3 separate regions of the Homo sapiens genome follow, and all the other regions are linked to region 3. The links are contacts of gene promoters, found by promoter capture Hi-C in human tissues and cell types (Jung and others, 2019). All regions are on one chromosome and are shown on one strand. Each heading gives the region's core, a stretch centred on a gene start or on the middle of the fragment in contact. The rest is flanking DNA. Distances are from core to core; before and after follow the strand shown. Region 1 holds the start of EPHX3 (epoxide hydrolase 3). Region 2 holds the start of CASP14 (caspase 14). Region 3 holds the start of CYP4F22 (cytochrome P450 family 4 subfamily F member 22).

The links. Contacts are between HindIII fragments. The study calls those that stand out against the background at their distance.
Region 1: the fragment with the promoter of EPHX3 here is called in contact with the fragment with the promoter of CYP4F22 in region 3 in 1 of the 25 tissues and cell types used here (spleen).
Region 2: a contact is called between the fragment with the promoter of CASP14 here and the fragment with the promoter of CYP4F22 in region 3, in 5 of the 25 tissues and cell types used here (dorsolateral prefrontal cortex, liver, mesenchymal stem cells and 2 more).

The regions. Positions count from the first base shown.
Region 1 is chr19:15,231,122-15,234,087 of GRCh38, forward strand. It overlaps EPHX3 (epoxide hydrolase 3), which reads right to left and starts at 1,327. Exons shown (of 7, transcript NM_024794.3): 1 at 848-1,327; 2 at 655-740; 3 at 118-275. The coding sequence starts at 1,090. RefSeq lists an enhancer at 1,077-1,578 and a silencer at 1,917-2,076. The HindIII fragment of the contact is 16,546 bases long and covers 1-2,966 here.
Region 2 is chr19:15,048,170-15,051,215 of GRCh38, forward strand. CASP14 (caspase 14) reads left to right here and starts at 1,311. Exons shown (of 7, transcript NM_012114.3): 1 at 1,311-1,476. The HindIII fragment of the contact is 29,360 bases long and covers 1-3,046 here.
Region 3 is chr19:15,506,755-15,509,991 of GRCh38, forward strand. CYP4F22 (cytochrome P450 family 4 subfamily F member 22) reads left to right here and starts at 1,771. Exons shown (of 14, transcript NM_173483.4): 1 at 1,771-1,829. RefSeq lists an enhancer at 1,415-1,915. The HindIII fragment of the contact is 20,579 bases long and covers 1-3,237 here.

The DNA.
Region 1 (2,966 bases), core at 77-2,576, 280 kb before region 3:
GGTGCCCAGTAGGACTGAAGCAGGGATGGGGGAAGTAGGTTCCAGCAAGGAGAAAGCGGGGGTATGCGTGTGTGCAGGATGAGGGAGGCCACGCCTAGGATGGGGGTATGTCTGCACCCAGGCCTAGGATGACATCTTTGATGTCCACCAGCAGCAGGTCGATTGTGTAGCAGTCCACATCCCGAGGTGCATCCGAGGGGCCATAGCCTCGCAAGTCCACAGCCACAACATGGAAGCGGCTCTGGAACTCCCGGAGCTGGTAACGCCAGGAGAACCTGCCAGGCGGGCGAGGGAGGGAGGCTGAGTCAGGGCCCTCAGGTTGCACCTGCACCCTACGCACATCAGCAACCATTGGCAAACCCTCCTTCCTGCTCTAAACTTCCCCTAAAAGGAGGATGGGGAATCCCAGGCAGAGGCAGAGGCTGAGGCTGAAGCCAGCTACACCCTGAATCCAGGGAACTTCAATCAACCTCAATACCCCTTTGTCCTGTCCCTTCAGGGCCTAGGGATCCTGGGTATGCTGGCTCAGTACCCCTATCCCCATCTATGTTCAGCTTGTCCCGATCTATACAGCCCTCCTCCCTGCCTCTTGGGAGCCCAAGCTCCACCTGCCCCCGAGTCCCGTGGGCCTCAGGCCCCTGGCCCCAGACGTACCAGTTCTCAGGGAAGCCGTGCAGAAACAGCATGAGGGGTCCGTTACCTCGTCCAGCCGAGACATAGTGCAGACGCAGGCCCGAGCTCTAGGGGGAGGGCACAGCCTGAAGCCTGGGGAACCCTCTCTCCCGAGGCTTGAACCGTCTCGACCCCACGCGACCCCGCAGCCCCGATAGCGCCCCCGTGCGATCACCTTGAGGTTCAGGAAACCGTGCTCACCCAGCGAGGGGTCGCTCAGGCAGGCGGGGGACGCGCTCCGACGGCGCCCGCAGCAGCCGCGCCGGGGCCGGCACAGCACGTGCGTGAGCGCTATGCAGCCGTAGACCGCCGCGGCCACCAGCGCCACCGAGAACACCAGGCTCCACATGAAGGCGCGCAGCAGCTTCAGCGACAGGCGCGACGGCGCCAGCAGCGCGGTCACCACCAGCTCCGGCATGTCGCCGCGCTCCGGGACCACGGCGGCGCTGCCGGCCAGGGGCACCTGCAGCAGCGGCGAAGCGGTGTCAGGGCTCAGGGGCCCATCGCCCTTGGCCTGGGGCCCCTCCGTGCCGTCGGGATTTGTGGGACGCGCTGAAGGAAGAGGCGGGCGGCTCCGACAGAAAACAGCCAGAGCGCACCACTCACCTGAGTGCCAGGTAAACACCTGGGCGCGACAGGGACAGGAAACAAGGGTAGGGTGCGGAGGCTGGGGAGGAAGAGGTTGGAAAGGGGGGAAATAAATGGGCGGGGCCTAGCAGGTCCTGTGCGGGGCTTAGGGCCGGGGCGGGGCCCAGGAAGACTCAGCAGCGGGTGGGTGAGGGTCTAAAGGCGGCAATTCCGGGCCGGGTGCGGTGGCTCACGCCTGTAATCCCAGCACTTTGGTAGGCCGAGGCGGGCGGATCACCTGAGATCAAGAGCTCGAGACCAGCCTGGGCAACGTGGTGAAACCCCGTCTCTACTAAAAATACAAAAATTAGCTGGGCGTGGTGGCGGGCGCCTGTAGTCCCAGCTACTTGGGAGGCTGAGGCAGGAGAATCGCTTGAACCCGGGACGTGGAGGTTGCAGTGAGCTGAGATCGCGCCACTGTACTCCAGCCTGGGTCACAACAGGGAAACTCCGTCTCAAAAAAGAAAAAAAAAAAAGGCAATTCCGAGCCCAGACAAACCTTAAGGAGGGGATCCTGGATCTTCAGTTAAGTGGGCGACACCTGGAGTGAGGGGCGGGGCATATGCAGAGTAGGTGCGGCCTACAAGCCAAAAAGGAGAAAGAGTTGGAATGGTGGGCCTGGCTTATGCGGGTGGGCGGGGAGAGGGTGGATCCTAGAGGAGGTGAGGCCTAACATTGGGCGAAGAAGGCGGGAGCCTGGGCCAATGAGCTGACGGTAGGCCGGGGAGGGGGCGGTGGGGTGGGGTGGGCAATGGGCAATGAGACGGAGGGCGGGGCCGGGACCTAATATGGCGGGTCAGGAGGGTCTGGAAGACGAAGAAGAGGGACAGGCAATGCCAGGTCTAGGACTAGGAGGGAGGCGCGGGCGGTATTAGCGGCTGGAGGAGGCTTCGGGAGGCCCGGCCGACGGCCGCCGCCTGGTGCTACCCACCCAGGGGCGCGCGACCCTCCCTTCGGTCTGGCTCCAAAGACCTAGCAGCACTGACTTCACCCAGCTGTGGTTCCAACGGCGGGTCCAGCGGCCTCGGCCCGGCGCCGTCCTCCTGCTGGCCCAACAGGCCCGCCAGCCCGCCCCTGTACGTCTGTGATTGGACGGCGGCGGCCACTGATGTTCAAGCGACAGGTCCTGGCCCGGGAGCCAATCTGCAGGTGTTGAGGCCCAGGCTCCGAGAGCGGGCCGAGGAGGCGTGGATACCCTGATTCCTAGGGGGCAGGCCTGGTTCCCCCGAGGAGGACCCGGCCTATGAATGACTGGAGTTCTGGGGTTCTGGCCGAAAGAGGAAGTGGGACAGGGCCGGGTGTGATGGGGCCTAGAGTCACAGAGCCTTGCGGCCCTGCTGTCCCTGCAAGAAGCCAGCTTCTGGCCAGGCGCGGTGGCTCACGCCTGTAATCCCAGCACTTTGGGAGGCCGAGGCGGGCGGATCACGAGGTCAGGAGATCGAGACCATCCTAACATGGTGAAACCCTGTCTCTACTAAAAATACAAAAAATTAGCCAGGCGTGGTGGCGGGCGCCTGTAGTCCCAGCTACTAGGGAGGCTGAGGCAGGAGAACGGCGTGAACCCAGGAGGCGGAGGTTGCAGTGAGCTGAGATTGCGCCACTGCACTCCAGCCAGGGCGACAGAGCGAGACTCCGTCTCAAAAAAAAAAAAAAAAGCAGCCAGCTTC
Region 2 (3,046 bases), core at 61-2,560, 460 kb before region 3:
GCAGGTAGGGAAGGTGAGGTAATCAGAATTTCTGAGCAAGCATGGTTGAGCTACATGGCTTTAGATAGGACATTTGTGCAAAAAATAGCATTTAGCATGATCTGAAGGTGGAGTTTACGGCCCTCTGATATCAGCTACCCACATAGGTGCAGTTGAAGGGTCAGTGATCTCCACTGGCTTAAACTAAACAAGAGCTGCCTCCTACCTAGTTCCTGAAAAACAACTTTAAGCACCCATTACTATAGTGTCCCACAGACAAAAATGTTATCTGTAAGGAAGCCAGTGGGAGTTTAGTTATGCATTATTTGGCTACGTGACTTGCTAGTGGCGCTTTTAAGATCAACTATAAGTAAGCAATTAAAAGTAAGTAAGCAATTAAACGCAAGGCAGATTAAGTCTGGAGGGCTTAATCAGGTTCGCCTTTGGTTTCACTATTAACATAAGAAATAAAATGAAACAAAATGGCTGAAAAATAATAAGAGGAGGAGGAAGAGAGGAATCATCATGATGCATCAGTTAAGGCAACTGGGCTGGAACATTTTAGGGGTTGTTTGTTTGTTTTTATATTTAAGACAGAGTCTTGCTCTGTCACCCAGGCTGGAGTGCAGAGGCACAATCTTAGCTCGCTGCAGCCTCAAACTCCTAGGCTCAAGCCAGCCTCCTACCTCAGCCTCCTGAGTAGCTAGGACTATAGGTATATGCCATCATTTTTATTATTATTATTATTTTAGTGACAGGGTCTCACTATGCCCCGGCTGGTCTCAAACTCCTCACCTCAAGCGATCCTCCTGCCTTGGCCTCCCAAAGCGCTGGGACTACAGACGTGACCCACCACACCTCACCCCTTATAGGGTTGAATGCCAACTGTGCCAATTGCTGACCTTGGGCAGTCATTTCACCTCTATGAGCCTCAGTTTCTCCATCTGCAAAATGGGAGCAAAAATACTGATCTGTCTAGACTCTTGAAGACTCGATGAGATAATAACTAAGTGAAGTCGGTGTTATCTACACAGTGGAAGGTGAGATGAATAAACTAGGCATAATGATGATGGTAATAACCAGATGGGCTGGCTATGGGATGGGGGTTGGGAGAGGTTGTGGCTGGGCTGGCACAGACATCTGACTCATTTAGACTCTCTGCCTAGGCCACCTTTGCCAGAGGGAGTCCCCTCAGCCTTGCGATCACTCATCCCATTGGCGTTGGCTCCATTTCCACACCACAGCTGTGTGCCAAGGGTGTGTCATGAGGTTTCTTGAGTGACAGAAAACTCACCGACAATAAAGGGCCAGGTGATTGTGCCACCCGATTCATAGACCAGGCTTCTCAGGAGAAACCCCGGGAGATTCCACACTGTCAGCCCCTTCTCCAAGATCAGTACGTGGGCCTGACTCCTCCTCGGTGCCCAGCTCAGTATTGGCAACTAGGAGAGTAGTGAGATTGAACTTGGCCTTGAGGAACAGCTGCCTCTAGAGTTGGTAAGTGATTTGGTGGATATTAGCCTCTCTCTCTCTCTCTCTCTCTCTCTCTCACACACACACACACACACACACACACACACACACGCACATACACACATACGCTCCCTCTCCCTTCATGAATTAATGCTCTGGCCAGTTTTGGCAGAATGGAAGAAATTTCCATCCATCCCCTCTTTCTTTTCATCTGTTCATTTTTTTCTTATTTGTTTACTCAGCAAATTCTCTCCAACACCACCTCTGTGCTCCCTGCCACACTGTTGGCCATGATGGAGACAGAGATAATGAAGTCAGGCTTTCAGTCCTGAAAACTGAGCTGCCAGTTCAGCCATGAGAGTAAGAATCAAAAACACTGCTGTAATTCAAGTAGGAGCAAGCAGAGCTGTGAGAGTCCAGAGAAGGAAGAGGAAAGTTCCAGGAGGTCAAGAGGGATCCTAAAACCTACCTGGGTCACCATTGCTGTTAAGCACCTAGAGCTCTCCCCAGGTCCTTTGCGGATGGGAAAATCGAGTCTCAGAGAGGAGAGTGAGATGCCGAAGGTCACACAGCTGGGAAGGGACTGAGGCAGGATTCGGTTCTGGCTCCAGGGCTATGCTCCTTCCACTTCCTCCCTCACAATCTTTGGCTCCTCTTTCGTCACAGCACTTGCTGTGTGTGTGTGTGAGTGTGTGTGTGTGAGAGAGAGAGAGAGAGAGAGAGATTTAATATTCATTTCTGTCACAGACTAGAGCTACAGAAGGACAGAAAGTCAGGGAGCATGTCTGTCTTACTTAATGGATTCTAAGTGCATAACACATAATAGATACCCAGAAAATATTTGCTGGGTAGGTGGGTGGGTGGGTGGATGGATTGATGGATGGATGGATGGATGGGTGGGTGGGTAGATGGATAAGTAAATAGGTGGATGGATAGATGGAAGATAGAGATGATGGATGAAGGAATGGATAGAAGGAGGGCTAGATGGAGGGATAGTTGGAAGATAGAATAGATGGAGGGATGGAAGACAGAGAGAGATAATGGATGAATGGATGGATGGATGGATGAATGAATGAGTGGTTGGATGAATAAGTGGATGGATAGATAGATGGATGGGTAGATAAATGGGTTGATGGAAGAATGAATGGGTATATGGGATGACTGATTAATAGATGGGTAGACAGACGGATGAATAGATGTGTGAGTGGGTGGATGGATGGATGGATGAGTGGATAGATAGGTAAGTGGAAAGATAAATTGGTGGATGGGTTGATGAATAAAAGGATGGATGTTAAATTGGATTGATGGATGACTAGATAGATGTGCGGGTGGAAGGATGGGTGGATGGGATGACTGATTAATAGATAAGTAGATGGACAGATGAATAGATGGAAGGGTGAGTGGGTGAATGGATGGATAGATGATGAATTAATGGATAGATGGTAGATGGATAGATGAATGAATTGATGGGTGACTGGATAGATAGATGGATAAAAACATAGATGAATGGATGGTTGATGGGGGAAGGCATAGCAGATATTATGCCACCAAAATTGTCAGAGAAGGATCTAGATAGAAAAAAAAAAAGCATTCC
Region 3 (3,237 bases), core at 521-3,020:
CCTCATCCTTAACCCCTTCCTGGGTCTCAGCTACCCCCACCCTTTGTCTCTGTCCCCTGCAGCCACTGGAGGGGTCCCTCTCAAACTTCACTCTATGTGGATCTCTGCATTTTCCAAAGTGCTTCTAGTAAGCTCCCCCTTGGCCAGAATTACTGGCAAAACAAAATTCATATCCCTAAAAAATAGGCTTTCATGCTGCGTTAATTATGAATAAAAAATTAATAAAATAAGCTCTTCCTCAGAAGTAAAAAAGATTAAAGACACAAATAAATATAAATATTTTTTTTTAAAAGTTCTAGGAGCTGGGAGAATGGCTTGAGCCCAGGAGTTTGAGACCAGCCTGGGCAACATAGTGAGACCCTGTCTCTAAAAAAATGAAAAAAAAAAATTAGCTGGGTGTGGTGGCACGTGTCTGTAGTCCCAACTACCCAGGAGGCTGAGGCAGGAGGATGGCTTGAGCCCAGGAGTCACCCCAGCCTGGATGACAGAGTGAGACCAATCAACTAACAGGGGGCACCTCCCCTACTCAAGCACCATCCATGGCTCCCCACTGCCCACCAGATCAAGATCCAGCCATTCAAACTGGCCTTCACAGTCAACTCCTGCATCCCTCCAGCCTCCACACCTCTCACACTCCAAGGCCAGGGAAAGCCATCTGCTAAGTCACACCCTCCAGTTTCTCTGTGCTTGAGCTCTACCCCCTCTCCTGCACTTGTTGAAATCCAACCTCTCCATGCAGTCCCAGCTCAAGTGTCACATCCTCCACGTCGCCTTCCCTGACCTCATGTCTGCCTCCTCCAAGCAGCAAAACTTCAATTACTTGTGTCTCCTCTTCTTCACCAGGAGACATGCCCCACACCTCCCACGCCCTCTTTCCAAGGGCCCAGCACCAAATGAGAGCGTATTCTTAGAAAAAAGAGGGATAAGGAAGTCTTCTAAGTTTACCACCTGCTGGGGCAAGTGGAGATTCTTGTCTTCTCATCTGTCTGCCCACGTGCTAAGGTCAGCCACACATCCACCCACCGACTCCGGAGGACAGACACATCCAGAGGCGGAGCTGACTCTGTCTCCACACATCTGGAGTAGACGGGTTGGCCAAGGACAACATCCTGGTCAGAGGGTCAAGGTGTCTGGCAGTGGGTGGGGAGGAGTGGCGGAGGGCGGGTTGGCGGGGAGCAGAACCAGTCTGGTGCTGCTTGTTGAGGTTGGAGGTCTTCCTGGAGGAAGAGGCTGCAGAGCCTCCAGGGGTGGGTGCCGGGGAAGCTTAGGCCCAGGATCCAGAGAGAGGGGAAGGGCTGGTTCCCAAGGGCTGGTGGAGCCAGAGAATTCCTGAGGGCCCCAGAGGAGGCTTCTCGGGGGGGTCAGTGGGGCCCCAGGGGGTGATGGTTTAGAGATCGCTGTCCAAGCTTGGGAGCAAACCTGGAAGTAAGGGCCATGGGGGGTGTTGGTGTGGGAGGAGTGTGGTCCAGAGCGGGACTTGGGCGCTAATGCGGCCCAGCAGTGGCAGGAGGGCGGGGAGCCTGATGGTTTGGGACTTCTAGGTGTCCAAGTCTCTGTCTCTCTTCATCTCTCCATCTCAGTCTCAGTCTCTCTCTCTTTCCATCGCTCTCCACCCCTCCACACGCCTATTTCTTGTTCTCTCCTTTTCTAGGGGGCAGCGCTGGAGTCCCCGCCCAGAACCCTGCGGGAGCCCGGGGCGGGATGTCCGGGGGCGGACCCCTCGGCACGGCCGGGCGGGGTTAAAGGGTTGGGCCGTGGGACGGCGCGGTCAGATCCCAGGTAGTGGCGCCGGTGGATCCGGATCGAGGGCAGGAGGCTGAGACCCGCGGGTGAGTGCGCGCGTGGTGAGGGCTGTAACCTGAGCGCGGCCGCGGCGCTGCGCTGGAACCCGAGGCTCGCGCGGTTCGGTGCTGGCGGGGCAAGGGCGAAGGTCTGCGCGCGGCGGCGGGCGGGGCGCAGCCGGCCACGGGGACCCCCCCAGGACCCAGGACGGGGCTGCATGCCCGGGGCACTCGTGGGGAGAGGGGCACGTGGGTGTGTCCCCGACGTTTGCTGCATTTGTGAGTTGTTTTCTTTTTTTTTTTTTCTGTGTGCGCCTCGGAGTCCTAGGCGCATCCTTTTCTCTGGGTATCTGTGATGGGCAGGGGGCCTCCAAAAGACCCCTCTGGTAGTCAGGACATCCCAGATGGGTTCAAGCCCCGCCCTGGGACGCCTCTTTGGGGCTGAATGGGGATTCGCCCTGAGATTTCACCACTGCACGTTGTCTTGACGGGGAGGTTGTAGTACATTCAACCGATGGGGTTAGGCTTGTGGTTCAACTGCTATCAGGAACCCTCTGCCCATCCATGCCAGACGCAGAGCCCCTCTATGAAAAGACGGTGTTCTTCTGGCCCCGAGAGTTGGCTCTGAGGGTTGTGTGAGGTCCTGGGGTTGGTCCCAGGTGATCTTCGTCTGATAGATGCTGGAAGGAAGATGTTTTCTGGCCTCCCAGGGGCCTGGCCCAGCCTGGGTATGCAAGTTGGCCGAGGCTGGCCACCTGGGGAGTCGCAGGCTGGAGAGGCCTAGGCTCAGGGCATCTCTCCTGGTTCATCTGCCCGCTCACAGCTCATTCATGCACTCATTGTGAGTCTCACCGCCCTGTAGGCAAAGGAGATGGCCAGGGCTGGCTGCGTACCCGAAATTCCTCCTACCCTGTGCCCCTTGCTCCACCCCTTATTTCTAGGTCCTGGAGCTGTGCCCAGCCAGGGCTGGCAGCATCAAACTCCTTCTTGTGTAACTCCAAACCCCAAAGAGAAGGAACCTCCCCAAATCTTCCCTACCACCCTCATTTTACAGGCACGGAAACTGAGGGCCAGAGAGAAGAAGCCTGTGCCTGTGGATACCCAGTGCCCAGTGGGAGAGCTGGGATTTGAAAAAACAAGCCCTGTTTGACCCCAAAGCCTCAGTCCACTTTCCGATGTCCCCGGCATCACCAAATGGCCCAGCTTGGGTTTCTGAACAGTAACATTAACTCTGGCCTGGTGTCTGGCGGTGACCCAGGTTGGTATCTGCAGAGGGGCTTGGATGACTTGAGAGGCATTCAGGGAATGGGACCCATCTCTCCTTCCTTCCTTCCTTCCTTCCTTCCTTCCTTCCTTCCTTCCTTCCTTCCTTTCTTTCTTTCCTTCCTTCTTTCTTTCTTTCTTTCTTTCTTTTCTCTGTCTCTCTCTCTTTCTTTCTTTCTTTCTTTTTTTGTTG